Regions from separate parts of the Homo sapiens genome. Here region 2 is linked to region 1. Evidence: promoter capture Hi-C in 16 types of primary human blood cells and fetal thymus (Javierre and others, 2016). All regions are on one chromosome and are shown on one strand. The core of a region is centred on a gene start or on the middle of the fragment in contact, and the rest is flanking DNA. Distances in the headings are between cores, read along the strand shown.

Region 1 (5,726 bases), core at 1,667-4,166:
AGACAAGAACTGAGGCCCAGAGAAGGCCGCCCAGATACAAAGTGGCAGAGACTGGAATTGGACCAGATAGTTTGATTCCTAAGCCTGCAGATATGAGTGCCAAAATGGAACTACTGATTTTCTACTATAAACCTGCTCCTCCCCCAACCTTCCCAATTGTTGCATTACCAGCTGCTCAACCCCAAAACCAAGAGGTCATCCTTTGATTCTTCTCTCTTCCTCATCCCACCCTCCAATCCATCAGCAAGTGATTAGTCCCAACCCCCCATAGATCTAGAATCCACCCTTTTATCTCCATTGCCACTCACCATCATCTTTTGGCTGGGCTAACACAACAGCCTGTTTTTGTTTCCCTGCTATTGTCGCTCTTAACGCGATGATTTCTTAATTTCTTGGCGACTTATTTGAACACTTGAATACAGCCATTTTCAAGCCACCTCAATCCTTGCACTTTTCAGTTACAAGTCAAAAAAGTCCCTTCTTTCCACAGTTGTTCAAGGTGGGTTTCTGTCACTTGCCACTAAGAGTAATGACTAACAGCCGCCCCTCCCATCCTGTTAATGTTAATGTCATTCATTGGAATACTACAATAAATCCTGTTTGCTGATTTGCAAACTTGCTCATAGTCTCCCTCCTCCTTCAACTGATATTTATAAAGCTATGCAGCTGACTGTGAAGAATATTTTAAAAGCAGAATTTCAATAATGTTTTTATCTTCTCCCACAATATTCTAGGCAATGGTAATACTGTGGAATAAAAGTATTATCTACTTCAAGAGCCATCATCATCTAACGCGGCTTAGTGGTGAAATGGTTAATTGAAAATTTGGATTTTGATCTGAAACCAAACATGTATTAATTGTTTTACTTGCCATAAATTAGCTTACTTATCTATAAAATGGGGACGATACTGTGAGGATTCAATGGGATGATTTATGGACCTAAATTAGCATAGCGTGGGATGCACAGAATATGTACCCAGTAAAAATCAGCCATTAAGAGTTTTAGTATGATGGCTAAAAATCACTATACTTCGTAATGACATTGTATACAGATTACACTATACATGAAGACTACGATTAACAGTTACTAGCTTTTTTGAGAAATCTTCTATTGTATACCTTTTAGTCTAGTTGCAAGGTGACATTATATAGTCTGTAGAAACAGATTCCACCTCTGGTTGGTTATACTAGTTTATGAATTCAGGGCTCGCCTACTGTAGAGCATTTCAAGTTTTGCAAATGGGACTAACCTCTAGTAAGACATTAAGTAATAAACAGAACAAACAGTGCTAAAATAGGGCAAAAAAAATCTGTGTTATCAGGGCAAAAGAAAGAAAAGCATGGTCACTCACAGTTTCTCTAATCGGTAATTCATTGAAACAGTAAGGCTTATCTTCACAAACACAGCAACAAATTTTTAAAAATGGAGACCTCACCTCATGAGATAATTGGTATAAAATTAGGACCAAGATACACGATGGACATGATTTTACCACTTTTTTTCTTAAATGATCTCAAAATTAGGTCTGCGAAGCCAGTTTGTCACACGCACAATTAAGCAAACAAAAAAACTTCAGCAAAACAAAGAAAAATTGTTAATTCACCCAGGTTATTCCAGAAAAAGCAAGTGTTGTGCCTGAACCTTCCAGATTTACAAACTGCCTTTTTCTTTTGCTGGATAAAACGAACCTAAGGCTAACATATACAGTGGATGGATAGAACTTAAAACCATGAAAACCTTGGGTTACTTAACTTATCCTAGTTTACTGACCATTACCTAGGGACCTGACTTCTCTAACAGTTGACAAAGGAAAACAGTATTTACACAACAAATCCCAACTTCCTGGTTTCATCCAAAAAGGGCTGTTTGAAGTCTCCAAAGGGCCAAGGGCCTAAAACGAAACAAATTCCGCCCTACACAGAAAAGCAAAGTCAACATCATCCTGTTACGACCTTACTAGCGACGACAAGGGCCACCGGCGACCGTGCAGCTGTGCCCTTAACGCTGCGCAGCTGCCGCGCGCCTCGGCCGGGTGTTTATGGCACACGAGGGGTGGAGAGCGCCCCGCCATGGGGGCGGCCGCCTCAACTACCGCGAGGGCGGGGCGCGCTCCCCAAAAGCTCCCAACTAGCTCCAAGAGCCCCGAAGTCTAACTTCGAGCGTCAGGGGGACCTAAAGATTGTAATTCATCTGGATAATACTGCATAATATTAGACGCTGAAATGCCTGGGGGACGCTTGAAAAGCTCCCCGACTAACTGGGAGACGTTTCCGCGGGCCTAGGTAGACATATTTTTCAACTCAGCTAATCTTGTTTACAAACGGAAGCCTTAGAAACTCTAACCTCGGCAAACATTAACTTCAGGGAAAGGCTGTAAAAACCAACTTGCGGTAACTCAACAGGTTATGCGCACCCGTCCCGGCCTGCGACCGCCGCATCCAAAAAGCGAGAGGGGAAGCACCAGGCAATTTCCTCAGCAGGCGGCCCCGGGGCCAGCGGGTGACTGGTCCAAACCTCAGTTTCCCCCACCCCGCCCGGTCACCTCTGGGTCCGCCCCGAGCGTTCGGCCAGACACACGCGGAACTTTCTGTACCAGAGCCCAACTTGGGAACCCAAGCCTCGGCAGCGCGCTGCCTCCCACGAACGGGGCTGACGACCCCCGCAGCCACTTACCCGCCATGGCTGCGCTTTCATGGGCGGCCCCCAGCAGCGCTAGCACCTGCAGCGTCCCCAGGAGCAGCGCGGCCCAAGCACCTCGCGCGCCGAGTCCCATTGTTCCGAGGGCAGGATGCGGCAGCCTCGTGGGCTCCCAGCCGAGGTGGCGGCGGCGAGAGCGGCTCCTCTGCGCAGCCGGCGCCGGCTCCGCTTCCCCTTCGGCCGCGCACGTTTCCCCTCCCGCCGCTTGCCCCCCGAATGACCAAATAGGGCGCAGGAGCGGGGCCTGGAGGGGGCGTCGCGTGCGCAGCCGGGGCGGCGGGGCCGGGCTGGGTGGCGCGGGGGCGGGCTCGGGGTTCTGGGCGTGGCGACTCGGCTCGCGGCCTCCCTCGCAGGCGCGCGCTTGGGAACCCCAGAAACCGCGAGCCGTTTCCTTTCTCTTCGGAAATGGCAGTTTTGTTGTCCTGGATGAAGGCGAGCGCCGCTGCCTCCCTGAATGCTGAGCACGCTGGCTTCGCGGTGCCCGGAAGGAAGCCTTTGAAGAGTAGTTTTGCGGGCAGGGAGGGGACAGGGGTGCGTGCGACTCAGAGTGAGAGGGAGGAGTTGCAGGGCAAAGGCGGGAGGAGGGGGAGATTCTGGAGAGGAACTTGAGGGGATGGGATTCACTCTAAGGAGTCCTGGGCGGTCGGAGCTTTCCCCTCGCGTGACCCAGCCTAAGGGGGAAGTGGAGAAAAACAGCTCGACAGATTTGTTGCTTAAATTCAAACGTAAAACACCTACGATCTTCTTATCCCAGTTGTACTTCATCTTCTCCACGGGTTCCCTGTATCTCTGATTAAGACACGAGATTAGTGGAGTGGGCGGGTGGGGGCGCGCGCAGGAGTTGGTAGCAACTCTCAGTGAAATACAGTAGAGCCATGGAAAGCGGGGGCTGCATTAATCCAACCAGCCTTTTCTCTCCTTGTGCCCTGCTGTCCCAGTTCAGATGAAATGGCCAGTTTTGAACAGTTTTTGGCTGAGTTCCTTTTAAACCCTTGGAGCCAATGCTAATCACTTGTCTTGACTTGAAGTGCTTGTAAAGTCTGCATTTTCATCGTGCTCAGAACTCTGAAGTGACATAGCTACCTGTGGCTAATGCATGAGAATAACAAAGGCTGAGTCCTGGCTTGGGTGGGAACCCTCAGCTGAAGTAGAAGACTGAAGGATCCAAGGAACCTAAAATCACAGTGAATCCCCACCTGCAAAGGTCTTAATGTTGCAGATCTTTGGCACCTGAGCCAGATTTCATCACATAAAGGCCACATTGCAGTTAACTTTTGAAAACTGTGTTATGAGAGGTAGAACTTTCTCATGTCAGGCAAATCCATCATTACAGAGGTCTGACTGGTCCTAGAGATTAACTGAGACAATCTGTCCTAAATTTACAGAGACTTCCATCTGTGGATTCAGTCAGCCAACCTGCAAATGTTTCCCCTGCAGCTTATCATGGACAAAAAGCAAGCATTGCACATTTCGATTTTGGTTATTCTATTTAACTGGGGAATCTGGTTTAGGAATAAACCGTTCTGGTGACTACCCCATTATCCAAGCATTTCCCAATCTAGGCCCAACCTGTCTTTCCAGCCTTGGTTCTGTTGCCCATGGAGAAGGGTGCTTTCTGGTTCCTGGCATTTGCATACGTTGTTCTTTCCTTCTGGAATTCTCTTCACCAACCCACAGCTAATACTTCCTTTAAGGCTCAGTGTACTTATAGCCTGGGAATCTGGGGTGGAATAAGAGGTCTGGATGTTTATATCCCCACCACATTCATGTGTTGAAACCTAATCCTCAAGGTGATGATAATAAGATGTGGGACTTGGGTGGGCATAGTGGCTCATGCCTGTAATCCCAGCACTTTGGGAGGCTGAGAAGGGTAGATCGTTTGAGGTCAGGAGTTGAAGACCAGCCTGACCAACATGGTGAAACCCCGCCTCTACTAAAAATACAATTATCTGGGCGTGGTGGGACGTGCCTATAATCCCAGCTACTCGGGAGGCTCCCGAGTAGCTGGGAGGCTGAGGCACAGGAATCGCTTGAACCTGGGAGGTGGAGGTTACAGTGAGCCGAGATCACGCCACTGCACTCCAGCCTGGGAGACAGAGTGAGACTTGTCTCAAGAGAAAAAAAAAAAGATGTGAGGCTTTCCGGAGGTGATTTGGTTGCTAATGAATGGGATTAGTGCCCTTGTAAAGGAGGCCTGAGGGAACTTGTTTCACCCTTCTGTACTGTGAGGGCACAGCAGGAAGACGCCATCTGTGAGGCAGAGGGCCCTCACCAGACACCAAATCTGTTGAGGCCTTGCTCTGTCAACTTCCCAGCCTCCAGAACTGGGACAAATAGATTTCTATTGTTTATAAATTTGTTGATAAAGTATCCCATTTAAGGTATTTGTGTTATAGCAGCAGAAACGGACTAAGACAGTGTGGAGAACAAGATATTTATTTACTTGGACAGTTTTTCCCGGGTACTGACCTGTTGGAGACACCTTCAGATCTCTGCTATCTGATTGCCACACCACAGTGAGTGGGTGTGCCCATCTTTGATACTAACAGCTCAGTACTGTGGATTGCCCATGTTTTTTCTAGTCTGAGGAGAGGGGAAAGAGCAAGGAACTGTGTGGCCTTCCTGCTCTCTTGGAAACTCTATTGGGAGGACTAGCCTCCCAGAGAAGTTGTAGCCCCAGTTATGCCTCAGGTTCAGCCCCCATCACTGTACCAACATTTTACTTTGGTGATGTGAAAAGTTAAAAGAACAGCCCTTGGCCATTTAGGTCTCTCCTCCTTTCCAGCCTCATGTCTGGATCCCTCTCTGTAACCTCACTAGAGCACTCAAAGTTTTCCAAATATGCTGGGGCCTTCCACGCCCCTGTGTTCTTGCTCCTGTTCTTCCCTTTGCCCAAGATGCCCTCTAACCTTTTCTCTTAGGCAGTTTCTACTCCTCTCTCAAGATTCCCTTCATATCCCATCTCCCCACCCATCTGGGCAGATTTTAGTGCTTGGATCCCTCTGCTCATACATTGATCAACTGGGT
Region 2 (5,726 bases), core at 1,048-3,547, 3.6 Mb after region 1:
GGTTTTCCCTGCCAAACGGTTCTGCTTGGTGCCATCCATGGAGGGCGTGCGCTGGGCCTTTTCCTGCGGCACTTGGCTGCCGAGCCGAGCCGAATGGCTGCTGGCAGTGCGATCGATTCAGCCCGAGGAGAAGGAGCGCATTGGCCAGTTCGTCTTTGCCCGGGACGCTAAGGCAGCCATGGTACTACAGGTCTTTTTTGGTATTTAGAGCCTAGGAAGCAGATCTTGGGGGAGGCGGGCCGGGCTGTGGAGACCCGACACTCCCGCGCTGGCCGCGACCCTCTCGCTGTGGAGCCTGTGGCCGGCCCGGGCGACAGCAGCCGGCGCTGCGGAGTTGTGGGCGACGCACGGCCTGGTTTCCACGGCCTTTGTAACCGCCTTGGAGGCCGCGATGGCTGTAAACATTATCTCTTTCCCCTTGTTATTTCAAATGGAGACCCTCCTAAACCATGAAATAAGTGTAGGGAAGGCCGACAAAATTGGGTTTTTCTGTAATGAATGTTTTTATGTCTTTATCTTTAAATGTTATTTTTTTTTGTTTGTGTGCGTTCATAGCCTATGCTTATTCTGCCTGTTAAATATCCCATCATTCTCCAAGGACTCCCTGCACGTGGTAGGCCCTAGAAATTATTGACAGTATGATTTAGTTTGTAGCCCTGCGCTCCCCGGGATTGAAGCCAATGAAATTGAAGCCAGAGAGGATACCTTCCTCACTAGATGCCATGGGAAACAGTATTTTACGTAGATTTATTTATTTTAGCTATGTATTTTGAAGCAACAAATGGAAAACTGGATTTCAAAACAAGTAATCTGTACAATATGGTGCAATTTGAAACAACCGTGAATTACCATCATTTAAAAGACAGTCCTTTCTTAAAAATGTCCCATATTGAAACACTTTCTGTTTGAAATGTAGACTAGTTGATAATTTTTAAGGCACATTGGTGAAAATTTTTTACTCATTTGTAAGGAATTGTAAAATAAGCTACATTTAAAAGCCTGCAGTTTTTAAAAGTCAGTGTTAGAATTGAAGAAGAAAAAAACCTGAAAGATATTTTTAAAAATATATACTTTGTCATCTTATATTCTTGTTTTTTTGTGTGTGTGTTTTTAGTAATTATTTAAAAAATAATAATTGGAGGTGGGAGAGAGCAGAACAAGATAGGTCATGCCTTGCTAATTGTTGAAGCTGGGTGATCAATATATGGGATCTAGAAATACATATGCACAGATGTAGGTACAGTAGGGTTGCTCACTGCAGAGTTGTTTTTGACAGCAAGTCTAGAGCCAGCCTAAAATGTCCAATAAAGGGGAAATAATATTATGAAATATGCTACAGTTAAAACTGCATGGACCAGACGTGTGTGTACAGACATAAAATACTTCCCAATACTTATAAATTTAAAGCTTATATGTGGTAGAATACTGCATAAGTATAATCTCATGTTTGTGTTTATATGTAGAGTTAGCAAAAACATGTAAATGCACATATATTTAAATACAGAAAAGACTGACAGGATGCCAGCTGTTAACTTTGGTCACTAGCAAAGGAGAGGGAATTGCTAAGGCGGGCTTTAACTTTTTATCTACTTAAGCATTGCTTAAGTCTTAATTAACGTGTGTTTAATACTTAAGTATTTTGAAAAGTTTTAAAAATGAAAATTTTAGAAACCAAAAAAAAGTACTATTGCATACAGTGTGCTTGTATCTTTAGTAGACATCAGTACATACCAAATGTTTTATGTACTTAACAGGCTGGTCGTCTGATGATAAGGAAATTAGTTGCAGAGAAATTGAATATCCCTTGGAATCATATTCGTTTGCAAAGAACTGCAAAAGGAAAACCAGTTCTTGCAAAGGACTCATCGAATCCTTACCCGAATTTCAACTTTAACATCTCTCATCAAGGAGACTATGCAGTGCTTGCTGCTGAACCTGAGCTGCAAGTTGGAATTGATATAATGAAGACTAGTTTTCCAGGTAACGTTGCATTTTTCTAGTATGGCAGTTAAGTGTCTCGATGCCTCAGTTCTATTGCTATTGAGTAATCTCAGGCCAGGAGATGTATTAGAGATATTTCAGTTTAGGGAAAATGTGCTTAGTACACAAAGGTAATGGAGAGCATAAATCTGAAAAGGGTATATTTCCATGAATATTTACAGACTTACACATAAATAATAGATTATCCGTTACTGGGGATCCATAACTTTGCCTAGAGGTAAAGTGAAATATTAAGTGAAATTTTTTTTGAATTATACTTCAATTTATTTCACTTAAACATTAACCACAATTTTTCAGTTAATTGTTTGTTTTTTAAAAAAGAATCTGAATAGTAAAGTACATTGTAGTCCTTATGTAGAGATAACGTATACAGTTGACACATGAACAACACAAGTTTGAACTGCATGGGTCTACTCATGTGAATTTTTTTCAGTAGTTGGCCCTCTGTCCCCATAGATTCTGCATCCACAATCAAACGTGTATCAAGATTCAGTATTTGCAGGATATGAAACCTGAGGATGTGGAGGGCTGACTTCATATATGCAGGTTCCATAGGGCCGCATGCGCAGATTTTGGTATCTGAGGAGGGTCCTGGAACCAGTCCCCAGTGGATACCAACGGGCGACTCTTTGTTCTGCATCTAAATACATCTCTTTTTAGCCCATTTATGTAAGTAAAAATGAGGAGCAAGCATTATTAAAATATTTAAGTTGCTTATATATTGCCTTAGAAATTTGTTAGTGGTGGCTTTAAGGACCACTAACATTTGTGGTGAAGTTGAATGTACCCAGGCAATTTAATACATACTAAATACAGGTTCTCTTAACTGCTGTATATTTGTCATCATCACTAACATTTAATGAACACTTAACCACGTGTCATGGCATTTTACATAGTGCTTTAGACATATTCTGTGATTTAATTCTCTCAACTACCCTATGATGCATATACTGCTATTTTTAAAGAAAATAAGTAACAGGCTAAGAAGAAAGCTATTAATAAAAGAACCCACATCTTCCTAATTTCATAGTAAAACTATCTAATCTCCATACTGCCTGCACCATATGTGGTTTGAATATGTGGCTCTCTCAGTCTGTAAGGCTTGTATTAATTTTATCTCTCACTCCCATTTCTGCATAGAGAACTCCTATTTACTTGTTAGATTTCACCTTAACCTTACTTTAGGGAAGCTTTGTGAGCCTTCAATCTAAGCTAGGTTCTTTTGTTGTAGGTTCTCATAAAATATATTTTCCTTATTCCAGTAATGTATCTCAGTTGATTATTCATCAGGATGATTGATTATCTTTTCCTGATACTTAAAAGCTGTGTGAGAGCAAGAACCATGTTAGCCACATCAGAGTTTGATCACTATCACATCTCTTAGTACCTTGCCTAGCATGTAATAGTAAAATATTTGTCAAATGAATGAATAAACACTGTGCTGTTAGAGTATAGGCTTCAGTGTGGTTGTGAATCTCTTCTCCCTTTTGCTTTTATTGTCCTTACCTTGCATTTTCCTACTAGCTACTCTTTCTCTTACCTGCTAATAAACCTTTCCAGTACAACTCTATTCTCAGGTTTGTTCAGAACAAGGCCCTACTAGTGATTTTGGAAACCTTATAACAGATTGTTGATCTGATTCCCTGGATAAGATTCCAGGAATTTTGTTTACCTCCTGAAACTGTATGCTACATTTTGTATGATATGCACATGTGCATTTTTCTTGGGAAAGGATCTGGTATTCAACAGGGACATAGGTGGCTTACTCTAAAAAAATTGCTGCTATAGAGGATTCTTAGCATGGGAATTAGCCCATATATTCTTGTAGCTTTCTGCTGTCATTACAGGAACTTTTTCTAAAATCAGAAATGGAAAGGCCATTGTTTTTTAGAATGCAGTCAGCACAACTACCTGGTAATAATTGGCCCAGTGGGTTGGTATCTGCTTGGAAATGATACTTCTGAGAAACAGATTTTGTTACCAGTTAACTTGATGGGCAGTGTTGGCTATGGTCAATGCTAGATAAACAAGTAATTAATAACTGAAGCTTTTAATAAATGATGGTGTTCTCACTCATAGATGGGAATTGAACAATGAGAACACATGGACACAGGAAGGGGAACATCACACTCTGGGGACTGTTGTGGGTGGGGGAAGGGGGGAGGGATAGCATTAGGAGATACACCTAATGCTAAATGATGAGTTAATGGGTGCAGCACACCAGCATGGCACATGTATACATATGTAACTAACCTGCACATTGTGCACATGTACCCTAGAACTTAAAGTATAATAATAATAATAATAAAAAAGAAAAATAAATGATGGAAAGACAATTGAGCAAAAATTTAAGATTTAGTTTTCCTGTTAATTGTGTTATTAGACCTCCCCCCACCAGTTTTTTTTAGTTGATCTTACTTGACTAATCACAATGTCTAGGCCTTTTCCTTTTCTTTATTTTGTTGTGAAAAAGCTGTTGCTATGTCCAGTAACACAGAAAGGAAGAGAGATTTTCCAATTGTCACTAGTGTTGTTACCATGCTACTGATTCCTGAAGCATCAATGGACACAGCATGATTTCTTAATGAAGATGGGAAGTAGACACTGATTTGCTTCATTGGAGATTCTTTGAATTGCTCTACTTATTGTAGTAAGTGAGGAGATTGAGCAAGGGATTTTTCCTAAGAGTCTTGCTAAATGATGCTAGGCAAAACTTAGGAGAGCAGCAAGGAAAGTACTCTGTTTTGTACTAGGCATTGTTACTAGATTGCCAACTCTAAAGACAGAGTTGGCTTTTGGGGGTTATCATTAGTGCATTGAAAGAGTCAATTCCATTACTCTGTCTTGTCCTATAGGTAAGAATCCACTAGGAACTCAGAGAGTCTTTTTCTTTCATGGTGCATTAACCATTTCTGCTGAGTGCAGCTCATTTCCCTCCCTCTACCTGTTCTCCCAACTGTTGCTGTGGACGTGCAGGAGAGAACATACCTAGTATATAGCCTACCATATGCCAGGACGGTACATTCTTACTCTTAGGAAGAATGGTGTTTTCCTGGTCTTCATCTTAATTTATTACCCTCTTTTGGAAAATTTTGGTTGGTTTTCCCTTTGTTTTCTAATTTTTTCTACCATTAAAAGTGTTTGAAGTGATAAGCATAAAGGGTAACTTTTGAATTGTTTAGTTTTGTGACCATATTTACAAAGTAAGGCAAAATAAAATAGACAAAATACATAAAAATTATGATTGAAATTTGGGAAAGGACCAGAATTTTCCCCCTATGGTTTTACATGTTCGTCTTTACATTTTTAAAATAAACTTTGCTGGACTTTTTTTTTTAAATGCACTTGGGATTTAAAACCTGTAAGTAGTTTTAGAAACTCACACATCACTTTGTACTCTGAATTCCTTACTGGAAAACCAAGTCTCCACCCTCAAGGAGTTTTCCTCCTTCCCAGTTACAGGTCGGTCTTTTTCCTTTGTCAGTAGGATTTGATTGTGTAACTAGTATTTATTGAGCAATTCCTACAAGTGTGTGACACTATATTAGATGCCTAATAGGTATTATTTCATCTTTGTAAGACTAGTGCGTAAGTACTACTGTTATTTTATATAAAAGGTTAAGACATTTGTCCAAGTTGACTTAGCTAAAAAGTAAAACTTCATATATTTAACCACTGCTCTCTACAGTATATGGCCTCTCAGTATGAGATTTTATTGATTCCTA

The links. The method cuts DNA at HindIII sites, captures the fragments that hold promoters and counts their contacts. A CHiCAGO score of 5 or more calls a contact.
Region 2: a contact is called between a fragment that was not itself captured here and the fragment with the promoter of TMEM123 in region 1, in 1 of 17 cell types (monocytes). The highest score is 5.5, in monocytes.

The regions. Positions count from the first base shown.
Region 1 is chr11:102,449,849-102,455,574 of GRCh38, forward strand. It overlaps TMEM123 (transmembrane protein 123), which reads right to left and starts at 2,917. Exons shown (of 5, transcript NM_052932.3): 1 at 2,676-2,917. The coding sequence starts at 2,775. TMEM123-DT (TMEM123 divergent transcript) reads left to right here and starts at 3,071. Exons shown (of 2, transcript NR_135053.1): 1 at 3,071-3,201. RefSeq lists enhancers at 1,921-1,970, 2,151-2,440, 3,171-3,280 and a silencer at 2,761-3,050. The HindIII fragment of the contact is 13,483 bases long and covers 1-5,726 here.
Region 2 is chr11:106,077,713-106,083,438 of GRCh38, forward strand. AASDHPPT (aminoadipate-semialdehyde dehydrogenase-phosphopantetheinyl transferase) reads left to right here. Exons shown (of 6, transcript NM_015423.3): 1 at 1-181; 2 at 1,755-1,980. Among named protein-coding and RNA genes, the nearest start is that of AASDHPPT, 2.9 kb to the left of the region's middle. RefSeq lists an enhancer at 1-217. The HindIII fragment of the contact is 1,784 bases long and covers 1,406-3,189 here.